Linked DNA regions of Homo sapiens: region 1 is linked to region 2. Evidence: promoter capture Hi-C in 16 types of primary human blood cells and fetal thymus (Javierre and others, 2016). All regions are on one chromosome and are shown on one strand. Each heading gives the region's core, a stretch centred on a gene start or on the middle of the fragment in contact. The rest is flanking DNA. Distances are from core to core; before and after follow the strand shown.

Region 1 (5,571 bases), core at 568-3,067, 7.0 Mb after region 2:
CCGAGTAGCTGGGACAACAGAGAGACGCCACGCCCAGGTAATTTTTGTATTTTTAGTAGAGACGGGGTTTCGCATGTTGGTCAGGCTGGTCTCAAACTCCCGACCTCAGGTGATCCGCTCGCCTCGGCCTCCCAAAGTGCTGGGATTACAGGTGTAAGCCCCTGTGCCTTAAATCTCTTTCAGTGCACAACCTTCCTGTTTATTCAAAGAAAGGTAATGCTTCAGAATAGCATACAAAATGCTTAACTCCCGATTTTTAAATTAAACGGACTGCCCTGCTTATTCTGCGGCTTCTGGAGCCTATGCTAATTCAGAAGCAAAGCCTTAAGCATTTAACAGCTAACACCTTAATTATTAGGTTTGCAGGCACTTCTTAAAATAAAGAATGAAAAAGAGAAAACAAATGTACTTAGGAGATGGGCACTTGAAGTAGGGAAAAGAGGAGCACCAGTGAAGCTCAAGATAAGACAGACACATTTAATACAACAGCAGCTTCACTAACAGCTGCTGTTGCTCTACTACTGGAAATCATTTTTTTCCTGTAATATTTTACAAATTTTTGGCACATTAGTCTTTTATCATAGGGTTAATATAATACAATATATTTTAAAATTATGTTCAATTCTACCTTAACAGAGGAAAGCTGTGACACAGAGAGTTAAAATAAGCCTTAATTGAGCTTTAAAAAAATTAAACTGAGGTCAATGTTAGTTTGAATTCCGTAAATGCAAAACAAATGAAAGCAGAAGATTAAGATCCTAAAACAAACGGAATCGTCTGGACACATATCACTAGAATAGAAAAAAAGGCAATTCAGCATTCTAAGATTAAAAAACTGTAAGCAATGTATTTTGGTAAAGAAAAAGGATTACGCTTACTAGGAAGGGGAAGTGCTTCTTAATGTTGAAATAATGTTTTTCAAGTTTGAGTTCAACCCGAGTTCAAGTAAGAGCAGTAAGCAACAAATTCAATTATAGATTACCGAAGGGCAAAACCAAGTTTTAATCATGACTTTCCGTCACTGAGAATAGTTGTGTATTGAGGGCTTGGTTTCGTAGAAAAACCAAAACTAGAAGCAAAGGAAAAGATAAAGTTCCGAGCTTTTTCCGTTACCTACTCGAAACAACCTGAACTTCCCAACCTTTTGCCCCACTCCCGCTTTTCCTAGAGCCTTCAGTGAGCGCTCTTGCCTCTCGCTGCGGCCAGCGGAACCCCGACACTCACTAGCCTTTACCAGTACGAAAAGACAACAGAGGGATCGAAGGACTGTCCTTTCTTTCCCAGGCTGGGGCCGCCACTCCTCGGCCTCACTGTGAAATAAGAATTGCTAGGGGAAGCCCCATCTGTCCTCTACCCCAGAGCCTCTCACCTCCAAGTGCCGCAAAAGCTGAGTGGCGTTCGCCTCTGACTTCACGGCTTTGTACTGACTGACAGTCAGGAGCAAGGACTTCAAGCAGGCAGTGGAGTCCATTGCACCGGCCGCGGCCCGGCTTAGGGACCACCACCGCCCAGCGTGCGCCGGCCTTTAGCTTTCGCCGCGCTTTTTTTGATTTTCGGCCCCACCCCCTCGCTCTCAGAAGCTTCCGGATCCGGTCGGGCTCCGGAAGTCCCTAGGCACCCTAGGGGACCGTTCTCGGTGACGGCCGGGGTGGGCCAGGGGTCGAGGTGATTTGTGGGTCCAGGACGGGGGTTGGGAGCTGCCCCCGCTAACCCACCCTCGTCTGAGAGGCCGCGAGGTTTCGGCCTGAGATCCCGTGAAGGCGAGAAATCTCGCGATTTCTCGGGAGAGGAATCGGTTAGGAGAAGGGGGATTCCTCACTCAGCTGTGCGCTCTGATTTCGTGCGCTTCCTCGTCCTTCATGTTGGATGGCCAGTTTTTCGTTTGTGCGTCATCCTCTACCTGAGAAATGGTCGCTTGCCCCTAGTCTAGACACGGTGAGGAGCTCTGAGGAGAAGAATCTTGGGCCCTAGATTTTGAGGCGGCCTGGGAGGGGCCTCGTTTTTAAATCTCTCCTACACCCGCCCCTTCTGCCCGGGGATGGTAGTTTCTCAGAGTCAACCTATTGGCATTATGTGGCAAATTAGTCATGCCCTGACCAAAGTATTTGTCACATTTATTCGAGAAGACTACCTCCTGCTGACCCTGGGCCAGGTATTGCTCCGGAGGGTGTTACTCGTTAGCGTCAGTTTTTGTAAGTGAAGGTGTCTGTTTCTCTCTGGCATGATTGATTGTTTTATAATTCTCGATGTCTACGAAAATGGCACTATTATTTGCGTTTTTTAAATCGGAGATAGCTTAATATTATTGCATGTGTATGTAATGAAGCGAGTCAGTTACTGGTTTTGGAGCTTTTTGCTTAATATTTCCTAACGTCGAATAAAGCTTTAAAAACCAGGATGTAGAAATTGTAAGAATAGGGTACATTTCCATTTAATTAAATCGTTTATCAGAAATCATGTTTTTTCACTTCAAAAGAATTTTTTTGAATTACTAGATTTTTGAAGACAGGTTTGGTGTTTTGGTTTTGTTTTTTATAAAAGTTTAAATCTGAAAGATAAAAATGATTTAACCAGTTGGGACATTCATGTAAAAATCTTTGGGTAGCTTGTGTGTTCATTTATGCTTTCATTCATTCCGTAAACAATTATAGAGCGTGTAACATGGGTTAGAAACTGCCAGTCAGGGAACAGAGATGAAGTAGTATCCCCTGCTGCGAGGGAACTGTCTAGTAAGGGAAACATACAAAATAGTACTTTTGAAATTCACCACATAAATGAGAGGCACCATGCAGTAACATGCAGCAGTGGTAAAGAGTAGAGAGCCAGGTTGCTTACAGATTCTAGCTCCACCTTTGACGATGTGACTCTAGGCAAGTTCTCACTGCTGCAGAATCTTCATTAGGTAAAATCTGGCCAAGGGAGATACCTGGTTCATAGGACTGTTCATTCAATAAGTAGTTCATTGAGAATCTACAATGTGCTAAGCACTTTTCTAGACACAATAGACTCAGTGAAAAAAACAAAAATACTACTGGCATGCAACTTACATTTTGGTAGGGAACCAAATAATAAACACAATAAATAAGTAAGGAAAATGATATAAAGAGAAAAATAGACGTTATTACTCTAGAATAATGTTGGTAATTGATAAGGGAAATGGGAAGGTGACCTCATTAAGAAAGCAACATTTGGGGAAATGCTTCAAGGAGTTGAGAAAGGGAGCCATATTCTATGGGAAAAGGTTTTTAGATAGAGGAAATGGCAAAGAAAGACCCTAAAGTGGGATACTGTATGCCAGAAACAAGGATGCCATGTGGCTAGTGTAGAAAGAACGAGGAGGAGAGGAGTAGAGATGAGGTCCTATACGGTCTTGGAGATGGTTAAAAAATGAATTAATGTAAAGTGTCAGCTGTCATCTGGCATAATTAAGTTCTCAGTGTTACAGTCAGTGCCTCATTGGCAAATGAAGTGATCAGAGTTTGATAGTGTTGGACTTTTCATCTGTGATGATGTGTCAGCATCGTCCCCATTCAGAGGCCCAGGGTAATGCGCAAAGCTGCGTGCTATCAGTGCCATCTTTGTTGGATTTTGACTTAAGCAGTCATACAAATTTTGTATTCTCTTCTGTAATTAATATCAAATGTCTTTCTCAAAAAATCTTCACCAAAATTGATGTTGTAAGTTTAGTAAGAGGGATCGTTTCTAGCTGTGATAAGTCTTGACATTTTTAATCAGAGATACTTGCATATCCTAATTTGAGAAACACCAATCCATACTTTTAGGCCTCAAAAAGGGAAGAAAAGGAGCAGGAGGCCAGGAGCAGTGGCTCACGCTTTTAATTTCCAGTTTTTTGGGAGACTAAGGCAGGAGGACCTTGAACCCAGGAGTTGGAGCCAGCCTAGGCAACATAGTGAAACGCCATCTCTACAAAAAATGAAAAAATTAGCCGGGCATGGGTGTGCTCACTTGTAGTCCTAGCTACTCTGGAGGCTGAGTTGGGGGGATCACTTGAGGCTGCAGTGAGTGTGATTGTGCCACTGCACTGTAGCCTGGGTGGCAGAGTGAGACCCTGTCAAAAAAAAAAAAAAAAAAAGAGATGAGTCTGGGTCCCAATGACCAAAGGCCTTATTAGCCTTAAACTTGGACTCCATCTTGAAGTCCGTGGCAATCTCTGGTTTTAAACTGGCACCTGGTCTAGTCAGGTTTGTTTTTAGATTGATTACTCTGGTAGCTGAATGAACTATGATTTTGGGGAGGATAAGACTGGAAAGAGGGACACTAATTTTCTGGAACCTTCTAAAGGATAACCAGGATAATTGAGGTGGAGATACAAAATAGGTGACAAATTCGAGAAGTATATATGAAGTAAAATAGGTAGGATTTGGTGACTGATAGTGGATGTGAGGCATGAAGAGAGGGATGAGTCTAGCAGATACTAAGTTTTTAGGTTGGATGAATGAGAAGATACAGATACTGCTGAGTTAGTTAATAGAAAGTATTAAGGGTGTGCCAGGCGTAGTGGCTCATGCCTTTTATTCCAGCACTTTGGGAGGCTGAGGCAGGAGGATCTCTTGAACCCAGGAGTTCAAGACCAGCTTGGGCAATATGGTGAAACCCCACCTCTACTAAAAATACAGAAAATTAGATGGGTGTGGGTGGTGCATGCCTGTAGTCCCAGCTACTCAGGAGGCTGTCATGGGAGGAACACCTGAACCTGGGAAGTCAAGGCTGCAGTAAGCCATGTTTGCCCCACTGCACTCCAGCCTGGGCAATGTGGGCAACAGGAGGGAGACCCTGTCTCAAAAAAAAAAAAAAAAAAAAGTATTCAGGTTATATTTTATGTTCAGTGAGATTTTATATAGTTTGTCATACTGTCTTGTTCCATTCTTATTATGTTTATTTATCATTACGTTTATTCTAATAGAGATTGGTTTACTTAGACTTTCTGCCTATATATCATCTGCAAATAATTACCTCACCCCTTCCAGTATTTGTTGTCTTACATTATTGCATTAGTGTAAGCTCCAAAATATGGAAAATCATGTTAACTTTGAACAGCTTTTTTACATAATTTAATGAGAATGAACAGTGTTTTAACACAGTATAATTTGTGCTATTGGCTTTTGATATTCATCATGTTTAAGAGATTGGCTTTTATATCTGTTTCATTCTAAAAAATGTCTGCCAAAAATTATCCAGTTTTCACATTTATATATTTTATTTTTCACTTTAAAATTATAACACAGTGGATTATGTTGCCTTTTTGTTCTTGGGATAATAATAGTTTACACTTATTGAGCATTTGCCATGTGCCAAGCACTGTCCTAAGGACTTTCTACTTACCTATCTAATCTTTATAACAACCCCATGCTGTAGGAACTATTATGATTTCCATTCTAGAGATGAAAAAACTAAGATAGGAAGGGGAAGTAATTTGCCCAAGGTCACGTAGACAGTAGTAACAATCCTATGTTTTTCTTTGCTTCAGGTTTTGATTTGCTGGTATTTTATTCAGGATTTTATTATATACCTGTTCATAAGTGAGCATTTTCAGTAATATTTTTCTTTATT
Region 2 (5,603 bases), core at 2,334-4,833:
CAAATTCCCTCTTCCATAAAAATGGGAGTAACAGTAGCACTTAATTCACAGGGTTGTAATGATTTAATGTACTGAATTTCATGTAGAATACCTGCAACAATGCTTGGTGTATAGTAAGCTTGAATAAATGTTAGATATTATAGTTGTCGCCTCACAAATTACACATCTAAATTAAAATAATAATTGCTCATATTACCTTCCATTTCCAGCCTTTTAAACCACTTAAATAGCTCACTAGAGGTTATAATCCATAGCTACTATGAAGCAAGCTCTCACCATGGCCAGGCAGCATATTATAGATTTAACCTTTATTATCCCAATGCCCTCAGTAACCCTATATGTATTATTCCATTTGTATAGTTATAACATATTCCATAACATTGTTATCCAGTACAAACTCACAGAATTAGCAAAATGCAGAATTAGAATTTAAGTCGAGTTTTTGTGTGGTGCAAAACTAATGCTCTTTGCCTTGGACTACATTGCCTATTCATTGTCAGAAAACGGTACCCCAAAATTTGGTGCTTTGACATGCTGAACTAGAGAAGCAGCCGCAAGGTTTCTCTGATCTCCCCACCCCACCTCCTGCCTCTCAATCCTCTGCCTCCCCCAAAACACGGGATAAGACTGTTCTTTGAAGTTTCTTATCTACCTAGAAACCACACACATCAAAGAACACAATTGCTTTCTATCTGCTTCCTCCCTGAAATTTCATTAACCAGAAGAAATTAAAACATATCACAAAGCCAGATACAGTGGTGCACACATGTAGTCCCAGCTACCTGTGAGTCTCAGATGGGAGGATTCTTGAGGCCAGGAGTTTGAGGCTGTAGTGTGCTATCATCATGCCTGTGAATAGCCACCACACTCCAGCCTGGGCAACACAGTGCGACCTGGTCTCATAAAAAAACAAAACTCACATCATAGAGGAAGAGACTGAAAATTAACCACCACACTTAGAGCCCAAACTTTGCCTCAAACTACTGTTTTTTGTTTTTGAGACAGGGTCTCACTCTGTCACCCAGGTTGGAGTGCAGTGGCGAGATCTTGGCTCACTGCAACCTTGCCTCCGGGGCTCAAGTGATCCTTCTATCTCAGCCTCCCTAGTAGCTGGGATTATGGGAGTGAGTCACCACGACTGGCCTTCGAATTATTATTGGTTCTCTAGTTTCACTTGGTTTACAAAGAGAATAATTTACAAGTGAATTTCTGCATTAATCTCTCCTAAAATCATTTACTACTCCTCTAAAATTGCCTGTAGCCCCCCCACCTCTCTCTCCCCTATGAAAAGTATTAAACTTCAACCATCTGACCCTTTTTTTAGTTTTCTTATTTTGTTGTATCATTCCCATGCTTATGCACATTAATTTTCTCTTGTTAACCTGTCTTTTATTAACAAGCATGTTGTCATGACTCTTTTGATGGGGAGGAAAGTGATCACCCCCTTTCCACCCCTTCATACTACACTACCTTTCCATTTCCTAACCCGTTTGTAGGAGGTTACTGAAGCTTGCATTAATTTCTTCAATAGATATTTATCCAGACTAGTATAATCCAGGTGCTGGGGAAACAGTGGTGAACAAGACAGGCACACCTCATGAAACTCACAGAACTGAAAGGTGAATGGATTACTATCTTCATCCTTTTTTTGTTTCGTTTTTTTCCTTTCATACCTAGTCCTGCACATGCATCCTTAACTTCTGCAGTGTGGTATATGGGAACTGGATCCGCTCCTAAATAGGTATGTGACTTCTCTGAGCTTTATCTTCTTCACTTAAAAATTACAAGCATCGGCCGGGCACGGTGGCTCACGCCTGTAATCCCAGCACTTAGGGAGGCTAAGGTGGGCGGATCACAAAGTCAGGAGTTCGAGACCAGCCTGGCCAACATAGTGAAACCCCGTCTCTACTAAAAATACAAACATTAGCCGGGTGTGGTGGCACGCGCCTGTTGTCCCAGCTACTCGAGAGGCTGAGGCAGGAGAATCGCTTGAACCCAGGAGGCGGAGGTTGCAGTGAGCCAAGACCATGCCATTGCACTCCAGCCTGGGTGACAGAATGAGAGACTCCATTCCACCCCCCATAAAAAATTACAAGCATCTGTAAATACATAATCTCAAATAAAAATCTTCGTGTATATCTCCATTTTTAAAATGATAGAAACGAGAGTCTCAATGATTACCTTGAAAAGATCACAAGGAAAATGAAACAAACATGAATTAAGTACCTGTAAGATAGTTTGCTGGTTACTTTTACATATATGATAAATGATGGATCAGGGACTTCAACCTAGATCACAAAATCACCACCACACTGCCCTGCTTCTGTCATGGGAAACACACTTTGATAATTTCTTCATTCTTTCTCCACTCCCTGGACTTGAAGCCCGAGAAGTAATCCATCCGCAAATATTGAACACTTTTTATATTCATATATGAAACGCACAGTACACAGTTTTTAAAAACTGGTCTCTGTTGTCAAGGAACTTTTGAGCCATTCAGAGAGACAACACTTAAAACACACACACACACACACACACACACAAACTGAGGGAAGTATGAAGTGACCAAATAATGGTATACAAAGATGATCTCATTTGATCCCTATTACCACTCTTTGAGGAGGTACTATTATTATTGCTCTTTTATAGAGAAGAAAAGGTAGCTCTGTAGGCAGTAAGCAAGTCTCAAGGTTACTCAAGCAGGAAAGGGCAAAACAGATTCAAATCCAAGTTCTGACTCCTAAGACTTTCTCTAACTATATATGGTAAGACAAACCCAGAAACTCCAGTTCCCTAAGCAAGTAATAGACCCCATTTGGCTAGGAGGGCTGGATAAATACTGAGAAAGGGGGAAGATGAAGCCGAAAAGGTAGGCTAGGGCCTAATGTAACTCACGGACTTCAGAATGCAGACTGTAGGAATCCACTAAAGGTTTCTTATTAAGGCAGAAATTACTGCAGTCTTAACTTGACATAGTAGTTTCTCAACTTGGTAGAAGCAGACTATACAAAAAGTAACTTTACAGTTGGCTACGTGACTTAGACAAATTACTCTCTCTGACCTCAACTCTTACAGGTAATTGAGAGGAGAATTCTATATTTGGACAATCGCCGTGATTAAACGAGTGTATGAAAGGCGTCTGAAGCTAGGGGGCGCTAGATAAACACTGATTTCCCCTTTAGGGAAAAAGAATGCAGGCTTTTTGTTTACATAGAGTTGGCAGGCATGCGTTATCCAGCAAGGCCGGAACGGAAGACACTCTCAGCCTCAGCTGCAACCACATCTGGGTATGCAGAAACCTTCTAAGATCCCAGCGTTTCCAGGGAGATGCTCCATTTCCCCTCACTTCTCCGGACCTGTCGCTAGACCATGAAGACCTGACTGCCCTCTAATAAAGTGCCTAGCCAGCACTCTTAGACCGCCCAACCTTCCCAGCTCTTCCTTCCGAGGCGGCTACTCGATGACATCACATCCACTTCCGCTTCCGAAGGCGGCCTCTTTTCATTCCTCGGGACCGCTCTAGGCTGCCACCACGCCGGCTGGCCCCAAAAACTCGATGGTTGTTGGGCGGGGTCGTGACGTCCTTGGCGTGGCTGCAGGGGAGGCCGCGGCGGGGAAAATGGCGGACGGGAAGGCGGGAGACGAGAAGCCTGAAAAGTCGCAGCGAGCTGGAGCCGCCGGAGGTGAACACAACCCCAGCGTCGTGGGCAGCGTGGGATGCTCCGGGCCTTTCTTTGAGCTCCCAGGGTGGGGGGAGTGGGGTGGGGCGAGAATGGGCGGATCTGGACCTCACCCGGCCAGGTGTTGGGCCCAGACCTGCCTCGGGCACGCCCGATGCGGCCCTCTGGGCTCCGGGCCTACATCGCCTCCTTGCCTGGGGAGAGCCGGCCACTGTTCGTCACCTCCTGGCCCCAGCGGAGGCCCTGATTCCGAGGAGAAGGGAGATGGGCGCCAGAAAGGGAGACCGAACTCGGGGTGGGACCAGGAGCGGCGGTGCAGGAGCCGCTACCGCCACACCGGAGACGCACATCACACAAAACACACACACCGGAGACGCTCATGAGACATAACATACACACAGTGCGAGCCACCGAGTAGTTGCCGCGGGAACTGGCCGCAGGCTGAGTTTCTGACGGTGCCGGCCTCTCAGTTACACGCAGGAGTTAATTACGCTTGCTGCTCCCTTTTCACTGAGGAGGTGGACAACTCCGGCCTGCTCTCTTTCCTTTACTTCCAAGTTTAATATTGACCCTGTGACAGGATGGGCCGAGGTGATGGAGGGGAAGAGGAATGCCTTTGCCTGCCCTCTGGTTTAAGCTGCGGGGTCTAGGGCTAAGGTTTGGTTGCTTTTCTTTGAAGTATCTCCCTTAGGCTGTTGCCAGCTGACCGCTTGCCAGATACTTAGGCGACTAAATAGTCTAGCGTGACTCTTCCTGTATTTTGTTACGACGTTAAACTCAGGTTACAGCTATCCTTATTCTGTCCATTCCACTCCCTAAATTCGGGTCTTGTGCGTGAAGGAAAAGAAACGTAATCTCTCCAGCTCCCTCTTTGCACATAACAAGACAAGTGACTTAACACGTGCGAGCTGTTTAAAATGTTTTTAGAACATTTTAAACATTATTCTCTATTCTGACCACCTTAGTTATCATTCCCGAAATTATTTAATATGAGAAAATAGAAACGATTAATAGCATATGAAGGCCACTAGTAGACCTACTAACATAATGTTTCATGTTAATTGCCTTGGGAACAAAAATTATTGAAAAGATTAAGTGTAATGTTAATTACTTTGGACCCAGGATTTCCTTTTTAAAAAACACGTACAATTCTGTTAGTTAAGCTGGAACTCCATCTCTCTCTTCCCTCCCCACCCCCTGTCTTTTTTTTTTTTTATAACTAGTAAAATACCTTATGAAAGAACAATTTAAATTTAAACCATCTACTACTTTCTCACTAGGGAATTTTTTTTCCCAAAAAAATTGTATTGGAAATTGTGGGATAAAATTACATAAAAGTTTAAAAGTAGTTTGAGGAAAAGCAAAAAATTTTAGACGTAGTTTGAGGAAAAGCCTAAAGAATCATGTGTTGATTTTAAGGCCATCTCGTTAACTGTCTTGACCGAGGGTAGCAGACGTGTTTAATGTGCTGTCAAAATGTACCTTGAGTGTCATTATAAATCCACTGTATAATTTACCTGCCATTCTTTCAGTTGAGGGTTATTAGTTCTATAGTATGAATATTGATGTTTCCATTTTAGCATGTGGGGAGAAGTAGTAGAGAATTACTTTGCTAATTGGTATCAGAAAAATTATTATGGTCTTTTTCTTGGTAACTTAGAGTAAGTAAATATCCCTTAACTTCTACATAATTTGTCTCCTTGCCGTTACAAGAAAGTAGTGCTGTTAAGTTTAAGCCATTTTTGAATGTCAGATATTTTTAATGAAATTGTGCATAGGAATCATAGTTAAAATATGTCATACCATGGATATTGCAAAATTGGTAATTTTGTGGCAGATAGTCACTTTTTTGAAAACACTGTCAAGTTTGTCTTAGGGGCTTAACTAGAGAATATTCTGAATTTTAATTCCTGTCGAGCAGTC

Evidence for each region. Contacts are between HindIII fragments. The CHiCAGO score rates a contact against its expected background, and 5 or more counts as called.
Region 1: the fragment with the promoter of DZIP3 here is called in contact with the fragment with the promoter of PCNP in region 2 in 1 of 17 cell types (naive B cells); the score reaches 6.8 in naive B cells.

What each region holds. Positions count from the first base shown.
Region 1 is chr3:108,587,905-108,593,475 of GRCh38, forward strand. It overlaps DZIP3 (DAZ interacting zinc finger protein 3), which reads left to right and starts at 1,818. Exons shown (of 33, transcript NM_014648.4): 1 at 1,818-1,935. It overlaps CIP2A (cellular inhibitor of PP2A), which reads right to left and starts at 1,534. Exons shown (of 21, transcript NM_020890.3): 1 at 1,370-1,534. The coding sequence starts at 1,471. RefSeq lists an enhancer at 1,733-2,012. The HindIII fragment of the contact is 803 bases long and covers 1,579-2,381 here.
Region 2 is chr3:101,570,597-101,576,199 of GRCh38, forward strand. PCNP (PEST proteolytic signal containing nuclear protein) reads left to right here and starts at 3,584. Exons shown (of 5, transcript NM_020357.3): 1 at 3,584-3,683. The coding sequence starts at 3,620. RefSeq lists enhancers at 2,795-3,740, 3,184-3,453, 3,554-3,683, 3,764-3,923, 3,944-4,103. The HindIII fragment of the contact is 5,212 bases long and covers 1,508-5,603 here.